Linked DNA regions of Homo sapiens: region 1 is linked to region 2. The links are contacts of gene promoters, found by promoter capture Hi-C in human tissues and cell types (Jung and others, 2019). All regions are on one chromosome and are shown on one strand. Each heading gives the region's core, a stretch centred on a gene start or on the middle of the fragment in contact. The rest is flanking DNA. Distances are from core to core; before and after follow the strand shown. Region 1 has its middle 170 kb from the start of LINC03085. Region 2 holds the start of ZNF99 (zinc finger protein 99).

The links. The method cuts DNA at HindIII sites, captures the fragments that hold promoters and counts their contacts. A contact is called where the count stands out against the background at its distance.
Region 1: a fragment that was not itself captured here is called in contact with the fragment with the promoter of ZNF99 in region 2 in 1 of the 25 tissues and cell types used here (dorsolateral prefrontal cortex).

The regions. Positions count from the first base shown.
Region 1 is chr19:24,312,072-24,317,568 of GRCh38, forward strand. No RefSeq gene overlaps it. Among named protein-coding and RNA genes, the nearest start is that of LINC03085, 170 kb to the left of the region's middle. The HindIII fragment of the contact is 3,042 bases long and covers 370-3,411 here.
Region 2 is chr19:22,781,095-22,786,752 of GRCh38, forward strand. ZNF99 (zinc finger protein 99) reads right to left here and starts at 3,057. Exons shown (of 4, transcript NM_001080409.3): 1 at 2,920-3,057. The coding sequence starts at 2,922. The HindIII fragment of the contact is 12,356 bases long and covers 1-5,658 here.

The DNA of each region.
Region 1 (5,497 bases), core at 641-3,140, 1.5 Mb after region 2:
CTGGAGTGCAGTGGCGGGATCTCGGCTCACTTCAAGCTCCGCCTCCCGGGTTCACGCCATTCTCCTGCCTCAGCCTCCCAAGTAGCTGGGACTACAGGCGCCCGCCACTACACCTGGCTAATTTTTTGTATTTTTAGTAGAGACGGGGTTTCACCGTTTTAGCCGGGATGGTCTTGATCTCCTGACCTTGTGATCTGCCAGCCTCGGCCTCCCAAAGTGCTGGGATTACAGGCGTGAGCCACCGCGCCCGGCCGGAAATACTTTTTTTGTCCATGCTGCAAATGGACATGAGAGCTCATTGAGTCCAATGGCAAAAAAGCAAATATCCCAGGATAAAAACCAGAAGGAAGCTATCTGAGAAACCGCTTTGTGATGTATGCATTCATCTCACAGACTTAAACCTTTCTTTTCATTCAGCAGTTTGGAAACAAGGATTTGGTAGAATCTGCAAAGGGATATTTTGGAGCACATTGAGTCCTATAGTGAAAAAGAAAATGTCTTCAGATAAAAACTAGAAAGAAGATTTCTGAGAAACTGCTTTGTGATGTGTGCATTCTTCACACAGAGGTAAACTTTTCTTTTGATTCAGCAGTTTGGAAACACTGTTTTTGTCCATTCTGTGAACTGACATTTTGGAGCTCATGGAGGCCAATGGTGAAAAAGAGAATACCCCAGGATAAAAACTAGAAGGAAGCTACCTGAGAAATCGTTTTGTGATGTGTGCATTCATCTCACAGAGTTAAAGCATTCTGTTAATTCAACAGTTTGTAAACACTGTTTTTGTAGAATCCGCGAAGGGATATTTGGAAGCACATTGAGGACTATTGTGAAAATGAAATTATCTTCAGATAAAAACTAGAAAGAAGCATTGAGAGAAACTGCTTTGTGACTTGTACATTCATTTTACAGAGTTAAAATTTCTTTTCATTCAGCAGTTTGGAAGCACTGTTTTTGTCCATTCTCTGAATGGACTTTTGGGAGGTCATTGAGGCCAATGGCAAAAAAGTGATTACTCCAGGATAAAAACTAGAAGGAAGCTATCTGAGAAATGGCTTAGTGGTGTGTGTATTCAACTCACAAAGTTAAATCTCTCTTTTGATTCAGCAGTTTGGAAACACTGGTTTTGTAGAATCTGCAAAAGGATATTTGGAGCACATTGAGGCCTATAGTGAAAAAGAAAATATATTCAGATAAAAACTAGAAAGAATCTTTCTGAGAAACTGCTTTGTGATGTGTGCATTCATCTTACAGAATTAAACTTTTCTTTTGATTCAGCAGTTTGGAAACACTGTTTTTGTAGAATATGTGAAGGGATATTTGGGAGCTTGTTGGTGCGAATGGTGAAAAAGTGAATATCCCAAGATAAAAACTAGAAGGAAGCTATCTGAGAAACCCCTTTGTAATATATACATTCATCTCATAGACTAAATCTTTTTTTTACTTAGCAGTTTGGAAAGACTGCTTTTGTACAATCTGTGAAGGGACATTTGGAAATGCATTGAGCCCTATAGTGAGAAAGAAAATATCTTCAGGTTAAAAGTTGAAGGAAGCTTTCTGAGAAACTGCTTTGTGATGTGTCCATTCATCTCACAGAGTTAAATCTTTCTTTTAATTCAGCTGTTTGGAAAGACTGTTTTTGTAGAATCTATGAAGGGATATTTGGGAGAGCTTTGAGGCCTATGGTGAAAATAAAATAATCAAATAAAAACTAGAAAGAAGCTTTCTGAGAAACTGCTTTGTGATGTGTCCATTCATCTCACAGAATGAAACCTTTCTTTTGGTTGAAGAGTTTGGAAACACTGTTTTTGTCCATTCTGAGGATGGACATTTGGGAGCTCACTGAGGACAATGGAAAAAAAGGAAATGTCCCAGGATAAAACCTGGAAGGAATCTATCTGAGAAACCACTTTGTGATGTGTGCATTAATCTCTCAGAGATAAACTGCCCTTTTAATTCAGCAGTTTGGGAACACTGTTTTGGGAGAATCTGAAAAGGAGCTTTTGAGAGCACTTTGAGGCCTATGGTGAAAAAGAAAATATCTTCAGATAAAAACTAGAAAGAAACTTTCTGAGAAACTGCTTTGTGATGTGTACATTCATCTCACAGAGTTAAAACTTTCTTTTCATTCAGCATTTTGGGAAGTATGTTTTTGTCCATTCTGCAAAAGGACATTTGGGAGCTCATTCAGACCAATGGCAAAAAAGAAAATATCCCAGGATAAAAACTAGAAGGAAGCTGAGAATCCATTTGTGATGTGCGCATTCATCTCACAGAGTGAAAATTTTCTTTTGATACATCAGTTTGGAAACATGGTTTTTGTAGAACCTGTGAAGGGATATTTGGGAGCACATTGAAGCCTAAGTTAAAAAAGAAAACATATTCAGATAAAAACTAGAAAGAACCATTCTGAGAAACTAGTTTGTGATGCATGCCTTCATCTCACAGTGTTAAACGTTTCTTTTGATTCAACAGTTTGGAAATGCTGTTTTTGTAGAGTTTGTGAAGGGATATTTGGGAGCTCATTGAGGCATCTGGTGAAAAGAAAATATCTTCAGATAAAAACCTGAAAGAAGCTTTGTGATGTATGCATTCATCTCATAGAGTTACACTTTTTTTTCTGATTTAACAGTTTGGAAATGCTGTTTATGTACAATCTGCGAAGGGATAATTTAGAGCACATTGAAGCCAGAGATGAAAAAGAAAATATTTTCAGATAACAACCAGAAAGAAGCTTTCTGATTAACTGCTTTGTGATGTGTGCATTCATCTCACAGAGTTAAACCTTTCTTTTGATTCATCAGTTTTGAAACACTGTTTTTTCCCACTCTGCGAACAGACATTTGGGAGCTATTGAGGCCAATGACGAAAAAGTGAATTTCCCAGGATAAAAAAAAGAAGGAATCTACTGGAGAAACCCCTTCATCATGTTTGCATTCACTTCGTAGAGTGAATCCATTCTTTTGATTCATCAGTTTTTAAATACTGTTTTTGTAGAATATGAGAAGGGATATTTGGAAGCACTTTGAAGCCTATGGTCAAAAAGAAAATATCTTCAGATAAAAACTAGAAAGAATATTTCTGAGAAACTGCTTTGTGATGTATGCATAAATATCACAGAGTTAAACTTTTCATTCAGCAGTTTGGAAAAATTGTTTTTGTCTATTCTCTGAATGGACACATGGGAGGTGATTGAAGCCAAAGGCGAAAAACAAATATCCCAGGAAAAAAACTAGAAGGAAGCTATCTGGCAAACAGCTTTGTCATGTGTGAATTCATCTGGTAGAGTGAAACCTTTATTTTCATTCAGCAGTTTGGAAACACTGTTTTTGTAGGATCAGCAAAGGGATATTTTGGAGTGTATTGGGGCCTATGGTGAAAAAAAAACCTTCAGATAAAAACTAGAAAGAAACTTTCTGAGAAACTTTTTGATGTATGCATTCAACTCACAAAGATAAAACTTTCTAATGATTCAGCACTTTGGAAACACTGTTTTTGTCCATTCTGTGAATAGATATTTGGGAGCTCATTGAGGTCAACTGTGAAAAAGTGAATAACCCAGGTTAGAAATAGATGGAAGCTATCTGAGAAACCCCTTTTTGATGCTCCCATTCGTCTCGTGCATTAAACCATTCTTTTCATTCAGCAGTTTGGAAACACTGTTTTTGTAGAATCTGTGAAGAAATATTTGGGAGCGCATTGAGGCCAATTGTGAAAAAGAACATTACTTCAGATAAAAACTAGAAAGAAGCCTTCTGAGAAACTGCTTAGTGATGTGTGCATTCATCTCACAGTGTTAAACCTTTTTTTTGATTCAGCAGTTTGGAACCACTGTTTTTTCTTCCATTCCGCAAATGGACATTTGGGAGCTCACTGAGACAAGAGTGAAAAAACAAATATTCCAGGATAAAAACTAAAAGGAAGCTATCTGAGAAACTGCTTTGTGATGTGTGCTTTCATCTCACAGACTTAAACGTTTCTTCTCATTCAGCAGTTTTGAAACACTGTTTTTGTAGAATCTGTGAAGGGATATTTTTGGGTGCTTTGAGGCCTATGGTGAAAAAGAAATAATCCTGAGATAAATCTAGAAAGAAGCTTTCTGAGAAACTGTTTTGTGATGTGTGCATTCATCTCACACAGTTCAACCTTCCTTTTTATTCAGAAGTATGGAAAAACTATTTTTGTCCATTCTGCAAATGAACATTTGTGAGCTCATTGAGGCCCATGGCAACAAAGTGAATATCCCAGGAAAAAAAGGAGAAGGAAGGTATCTGAGAAACTGCTTTTGGATGTGTGTATTCATCTCACAAAATTAAACTTTTCTTTTCATTCAGCAGTGTATAAACACTGTTTTTGTAGAATCTGTGAATGGATATTTGGGAGTGCATTGAGGCCTGCGGTGAAAAAGAATATATCTTCAGATACAATCTAGAAAGAAGCTTTCTGAGAAACTTCTTTGTGATGTGTGCATTTTTCTCAGAGAGTTAAACCTTTCTTTTGCTTCAGTAGTTTGGAAACACTGTTTTTGTCCACTCTGCTAATGGACATTTGGGATCTCATTGAGGTCAATGGTGAAAAACGAATATCCCAGGATAAAAACTAGAAGGAAGCTATCTGAGAAACTGCTTTGTGATGTGTGCATTCATCTCACAGATTGAAACCTTTCTCTTCATTCAGCAGTTTGGAAACACTGTTTTTGTAGAATCTAAAAAGAGATATTTAGGAGCGCATTGAGTTAAACCATTCTTTTGATTCAGCAGTTTTGAAACAGTGTTTTTTGCTTTCTGTGAATGGACATTTGGAAGCTCATTGAGGACAGTAGAGAAAAAAGGGAATATTCCAGTTTAAAAACTGGAAGGAAGCTATCTGAGAAACCTCTTTGTGATGTGTGTATTCATCTTGCAAAGATAAATGGTTCTTTTCATTCAGCAGTTTTGAAGCACTGTTTTTTGTAGAATCTGAAAACAGATATTTGGGAGTGCATTGAGGCCTGTGGTGGAAAAGAAAATATTTGGGAGTGCATAGAGGCCTATGGTGAGAATGGAAATATCTCCCAATAAAAACTAAAATGAAGGTTTCTTAGACACTGCTTTGTGATGTGTGCATGCATGTCACAGAGTTAAAACTTTCTTTTGATTGAGCAGTTTGGAAACCCTGTTTTTATAGAATCTGTGATTGGATATTTGGGAGTGCATTGAGGCCTATGGTGAGAATGGAAATATCTCCCGATAAAAACTAAAATGAAGCTTTCTGAGACACTGCTTTGTGATGTGTGCATTCATGTCACAGAGTTAAAGCTTTCTTTTGATTGAGCAGTTTGGAAACCCTGTTTTTATAGAATCTGCAATCAGATATTTGGGAGTGCATTGAGGCCTATGGCAAAAAATGAAATATCTTCAGATAAAAACTAGAAAAAAGCTTTTTTCAGATACTCCTTTTTAATGTATGCGTTCATCTCACAGAGGTAAACCTTACTTTTGATTGAGGAGTTTGGAAACAC
Region 2 (5,658 bases), core at 1,807-4,306:
TAATTTTATTCTGAAACCCATCTCTTTTTTGCCCTTGGTTAAGTATTTTCTTACCTTTCAATCCCTACTAACAAAATGCAATTTACAGTTAAAAAACTGAGGTCAAAATAAGTGAACAAATCTTTTCAAGGTACAGATGTGTCTGATTCATGTGTCAAGTCAGGCCATCCAATCACTTAAGAGATTCTCCCACCCCATTCTCCTCACTTAAGTGCCCAATAACTCCTTCTCAGGAGACTCTGAACTATGCCCCAGTGAGTGCCCCAGGTAAGAACTTTTCAAGTTCTTACACCATCTCATTGGGGTCACTTTTTTTTTTTTTTTTTTTTTTTGTCGTTTGGGACACTATTTTTGATTTCACAGATTCTCACTATTTTTCTTTCACTATTTTTTCATTATATTTCACTATTGTTCTGCTCCCTTAAAGAATGCAGGGGGCAGAAATTATTTCTGTGTTTTCCCCGCAATACCAGCATCTGATTGGCTGACCAGCAATGTGTCTTCAAAAAATGGAAGCTGGGTTGGGTGAAGACAATCTTAATGTCTCAAGGGTTAGCTTTTCAAAGGAAGAGTATACCAGGAGAGACCTCTCAACCCCAGGGCATCTGCCTTCTTCGTTGAAAGGCTACACTCCACACCTCAGGTTGTCCTACTGGAGAAAATGACCAGGAGCTGATATTCACTAGACACTCTAGCAGACATAGCCATGGGGAATATTTTAGCTAATTCCCAGACAGTACTGAAACCCAGGACCAGGGAAAAAACTGAAGAATGGCTGAAAACACATCATAAAGTTTCCAAAGGAAAACCTTTACCTTTACCCCAAAACATTCTGCTAAAATCTGTGGAGCAAGGAGGAAAAAAAAAAAGCGGCACAAAGATTTTTTACAACACAGTGTCAGGGGATTATTTTTTGCTTTCTTCTCTTAGGAAATATTCACAAACAGAAAACAAATATTATGAAAAGTACCATCCAATGCTTTGTTAAAAAATAAAATACAGTATCAAAATGTACACTAAGGACAAATAGTAATGTGAATCAGAGAGGGAAAATTGACATTATGAACTGGAAGTTTAGTATTTTATTGCAAGCCAGAGTTAGGCTGCAGGAATTGGGGTTTGGGAGTAGACATAATACTCTGCTTGAGATACCTGTAAAAAATGGAGGGGAAAATCAGTCATCTGAGGAGTGTGAAAATAATTAAAAATAATTAAGTGGCAGGCAAATAGACTGAGGTGGCTCTAGTGCCTGATATCTACTTTTTTTTTTCTTTTTTTTTAAGACAGTTTCGGTCTTGTTGCCCAGAATGGACTGCAATGGCGCGATCTCGGCTCACCGCAACCTCTATCTCCCGGGTTCAAGCAATTCTCCTGCCTCAGCCCCACGAGTAGCTAGGATTACAGGTACAGGCATGTGCCACCACACCTGGCTAATTTTTGTATTTTTAGTAGAGATGGGGTTTCTCCATGTTGGTCAGGCTGGTCTTGAACTCCCGACCTCAGGTGATCCGCCTGCCTCGGCTTCCCAAAGTGCTGGGATTACAGGCATGAACCACCGCACCTGGCCTTTTTTTTTTTTTTTTTTTTTTTAATATGAGAGGGAGTCTCCCTCTCTTGCCCAGGCTGGTGTGCAGTGGCGCAATCTCAGCTCACAGCAACCTCTGCCTCCCGGGTTCAAGCGATTATCTGCCTCAGCCTCCCGAGAAACTGGGATTACAGGCATCTGCCACACTCCCGGCTAATTTTTGTATTTTTATTAGAGACGGAGTTTTACCATGTTAGCCAGGCTGGTCTAGAACTCCTGACTTCGTGATTCACCCGCCTCGGCCTCCCAAAGTGCTGGGATTACAGGTGTAAGCCACCGAGCCAGGCCTGATAATCTACTTTTTAAAAAATCTAATTCGGCCGGACGCGGTGGCTCATGTCTGTGATCCCAGCACTCTGGGAGGCGGAGGAGGGCAGATCACCTGACGTCGGGAGTTCGAGACCAGCCTGACCAAAACGGAGAAACCTCGTCTCTACTAAAAACACAAAAATTAGCCGGGTGTGGTGGCGGATGCCTGTAATCCCAGCTACTCGGGAGGCTGAGGCAGGAGAATCGCTTGAACCTGGGAGGCGGAAGTTGCGTTGAGCCGAGATCGCGCCACTGCACTCCAGCCTGGGCAACAAGAACAAAACTCCGTTTCAAAAAAAGAAAGAAAAAAATATTAATAATTCAAGTGCTTTTTTTTTTGTAAATTACTACATTGGGGGAAACAAAATTCAGGCTTAACCAACTATAAACTACAATTAACCTCTGATTATATAAACGGGAAATTTCCATCTTGATTGTACAAATTAAGAATCTACGTAACTGTACATAACCCATTACTGAATTTGGTTTTCTTCATTATGCACCTTATAAAACTCTTTCCGTCAAATCCCTTCCATAGACCATAAACTACAAACCACAGCTGGGTGCTCTGCCATTTTTGAATCACTCTTTGATTAAATCCTTTATTACTTTAGTGATGACTGCCATCAATTTTTAATAGGAGAAAAGAGGGACTGGAAACCTCACTGGACCAAAGCTCTTCCCATTCATGAACCCGCACCCGGAGTCAGGATTCTCCCCTGACGCCCCTCCCGTGGTCCCTGCACAATCTGTGAGAGAGGAGGCGCTGCGGGTGAAGAGCGGCCCAGAGAGGGCTCCAGGCCAGGGCATAGTCACAGTGCAGGAAGGAGGCAGGTCGCCCGGGGTCCCGCAGTCAGCGCAGCCGCCATCTTATGGCTGAAGGAGACTGAGGCCGAGCTGGGCAAGAGCTCGGGGCGCAGACTGTGGAGCTCACTGAGGGGAGGCCTGAGTCCCGCCACAGCCACTTTCCACCGGTTCCAGTCAGCCCCTTCCCCTTCTCAGGATATCGGACCCGGCACTCTCACCATTTCTAAGCTTCCAGGGGGTCCTGGCGTCCTAGCTGTGGATCTCCAAATACCTACAGGTCACAGGGCCACAGAGGCTAAGGACACAGAGCAGTAAAAACGAGATCCGGAGCTCCAGCTGGAACCAGAAACAACGGCCCCGCCACATCCCACAAGCCGCCCTTTCCGCTCCAGCTGAGTGCCTGATTGGACGGTTCCCAGCCCAGAGTCCCTGATTGGATAATGTTTAAATCCCCGCCTCCTCAGGCCCTGAGTGACAGAAGATGTGATCTGATGCTGAGCTGAATGAAGAGTGACGGGCCGGGCGCGGTGGCTCACGCGTGTAATCCCAGCACTTTGGGTGGCCGAGGCGGGTGAATCACCAGAGGTCAGGAGTTGGAGACCAGCCTGGCCAACATGGCAAAACCCGGTCTCTACTAAAAATAAAAATTAGGCTGGTGTGGTGGCGGGCGCCTGTAATCCCAGCTACTCCGGAGGCTGAGGCACGAGAATTGCTTAAACTCAGGAGGCGGAGGTTGCAGTGAGCCGAGATCGCGCCAGTGCACTCCAGCCTGGATGACAGAGCGAGATTCTGTCACGAAAAAAAGAAAAGAAAAGAAAAAGAAAGGAAAGGATGACAGTCTAGGCTGCAGCCTTTTCAGGCAGGGCTTCCTTCCTGAACTGAGCCAGGCCAACCCCAGAGGGTATTTGCATTTAACCTTTTGTATAAGGTCACATTCTTTTATAAATAATATATTATATGGTTATTCACAAATGAAAAGAATATAACAATTATCTAAAATTTTCAGAGTTTATGACCTTCCTGGCTTCTGGTTTTTTCATCAGATTGCCTGAGGTTTTAAAAAGAAGGCAATCCTCTGAAATAAAATTGTATTTTAAATTTTCTAGTAGCCAAACTTTAAAAATTAAAAAAAAAAAAAACAGGTGGAATTTATTGTAGCAATTTAATTAACCCAATATATCCAAAATATCATCTTAATACGTAAGCAAAATGTAAATTATAAATGAAGTGTAGATATTTTTTGGAACTTCATCTTTGAAACTAACTCTGTATTTTACCTTTCCAGCACATCACAGTTCAGACCAGCCACATTCCAGGCACTCAGTCGCCACACATGGCCAGTAGCTGCCACATTGAAGTGCAGCTCTGACCTTAGGAGAGGGAAGGGCCTGAACAAACCTTTTCTGCCAAAGATGGAAAAAGAGCCTTTCCCTACCAACATCTCTCTTCAGCTCTGAGGGAGGAACAGATAGTAGCCATAAATAAAGCACAGGACAGCAGGAAAAAACAACCACAGGTAGACCACTGCTGGCCACCTGTTGCCTACCTTTATTCCAGAGATCAGAAGGTGAACTAAGGATGGTAAGGCCACAGGAGAAGAAATCTCTGTGTCTTCAAATCTGTGCACAGTCTTGACCTCCAATGTTTAGATATGAAGAAAATAGATTAAAGGAAAACTTACTTTTCTATTTGTCCTTGGCCCTAATGGTCAGGCTGTGGTTATCTGTTTTCTCCTGTGGTATGGGGGACTGTGTGAGTATAGGCACCAATTACATGCATACATGTCCACATATATTTCTGCATTACTCAGCATTCTCTTACGAGGCCTCCAACTTTATATCAGGGGAAAAATCAGTACCTATAGGGTACCCACTGTTAGAAGAGAACTAGTAATCAACTTGTCAATGAATCCTGGCATCCTATCTGCACTGGGTGCATGTATTAATTAGCTATTGCAGCACAACAAATCATTCAAAACTTATTTGCTCATAATTGAGATGGTCAGCTATTTAGGGTGGGCTCAGTGAGGCTGTTCTTTTTGTCTCAGCTGAGCTCCTCCAGACATGTATCTTCAGCTGTTTGTTGAATAGGCAGCTGTGCTTCTGGGGATGAGCTTCTGCTTCTGGGGCTGTCAACAGGGGCAACTTGCTTCTCCTCCCCATGGTATCTTATCCTCCAGCTGGCTAACATGGGCTTTATTCATGGAGATGGCAGCATTCTGAAAGAAAAACAGAAGCATTCAAGACCTTTTGAGCCTACGCCCCAAACTAGTACATTGTCATGTTCACAGGTTTCTACTGCCCTGAGTGAATAAGGCCAGCAAAATCTAGGGTTTGAAAAGCATTCTGGATCTTGATGGGAACAGCTTTAAAAGCACCTACAATGGGCATGGATACAGGAAAAACTAGAAATTGCTACCATTTTTGAAATCAGTATCATTCTGCCTTTGTTTATTTGTTTGTTTGTTTTGCATATGTGGTTTATAGAACTCTTTCACATCAAGAATCTTGTCCAAAGACACACAGCTACTAAGTGGCTGGGCTGAGACTCAGGATCAACTCTGTCTGACTCCAAAGCCCACACACCTCCATAGATGACACTACTAAAGTAGCTGCCCTAGACCCTTGAAGTGTCCTGGAGGGTGACACTTCCACAGTAGAAGCCAGATTCCTTTTATTTTTTTTTTATTAATCTATTTCACTTCTTTTGAGACAGGGTCTCGCTCTGTCACCCAGGCTGGAATGCAGTAGTGCAATCTCGGCTCACTGTAACATCCTCCTCCCAAGTTCAAGTAATTCTCCTGTCACAGCCTTTCAAGTAGCTGGGATTTCAGGTGCTTGCCACCACACCTGACTAATTTTTGTATTTGTAGTAGAGACGGGGTTTCAGCATGTTGGCCAGGCTGGTTTCAAGCTCCTGACCTTAAGTAATCTGCCTGCCTTGGTCTCCCAAGGTTC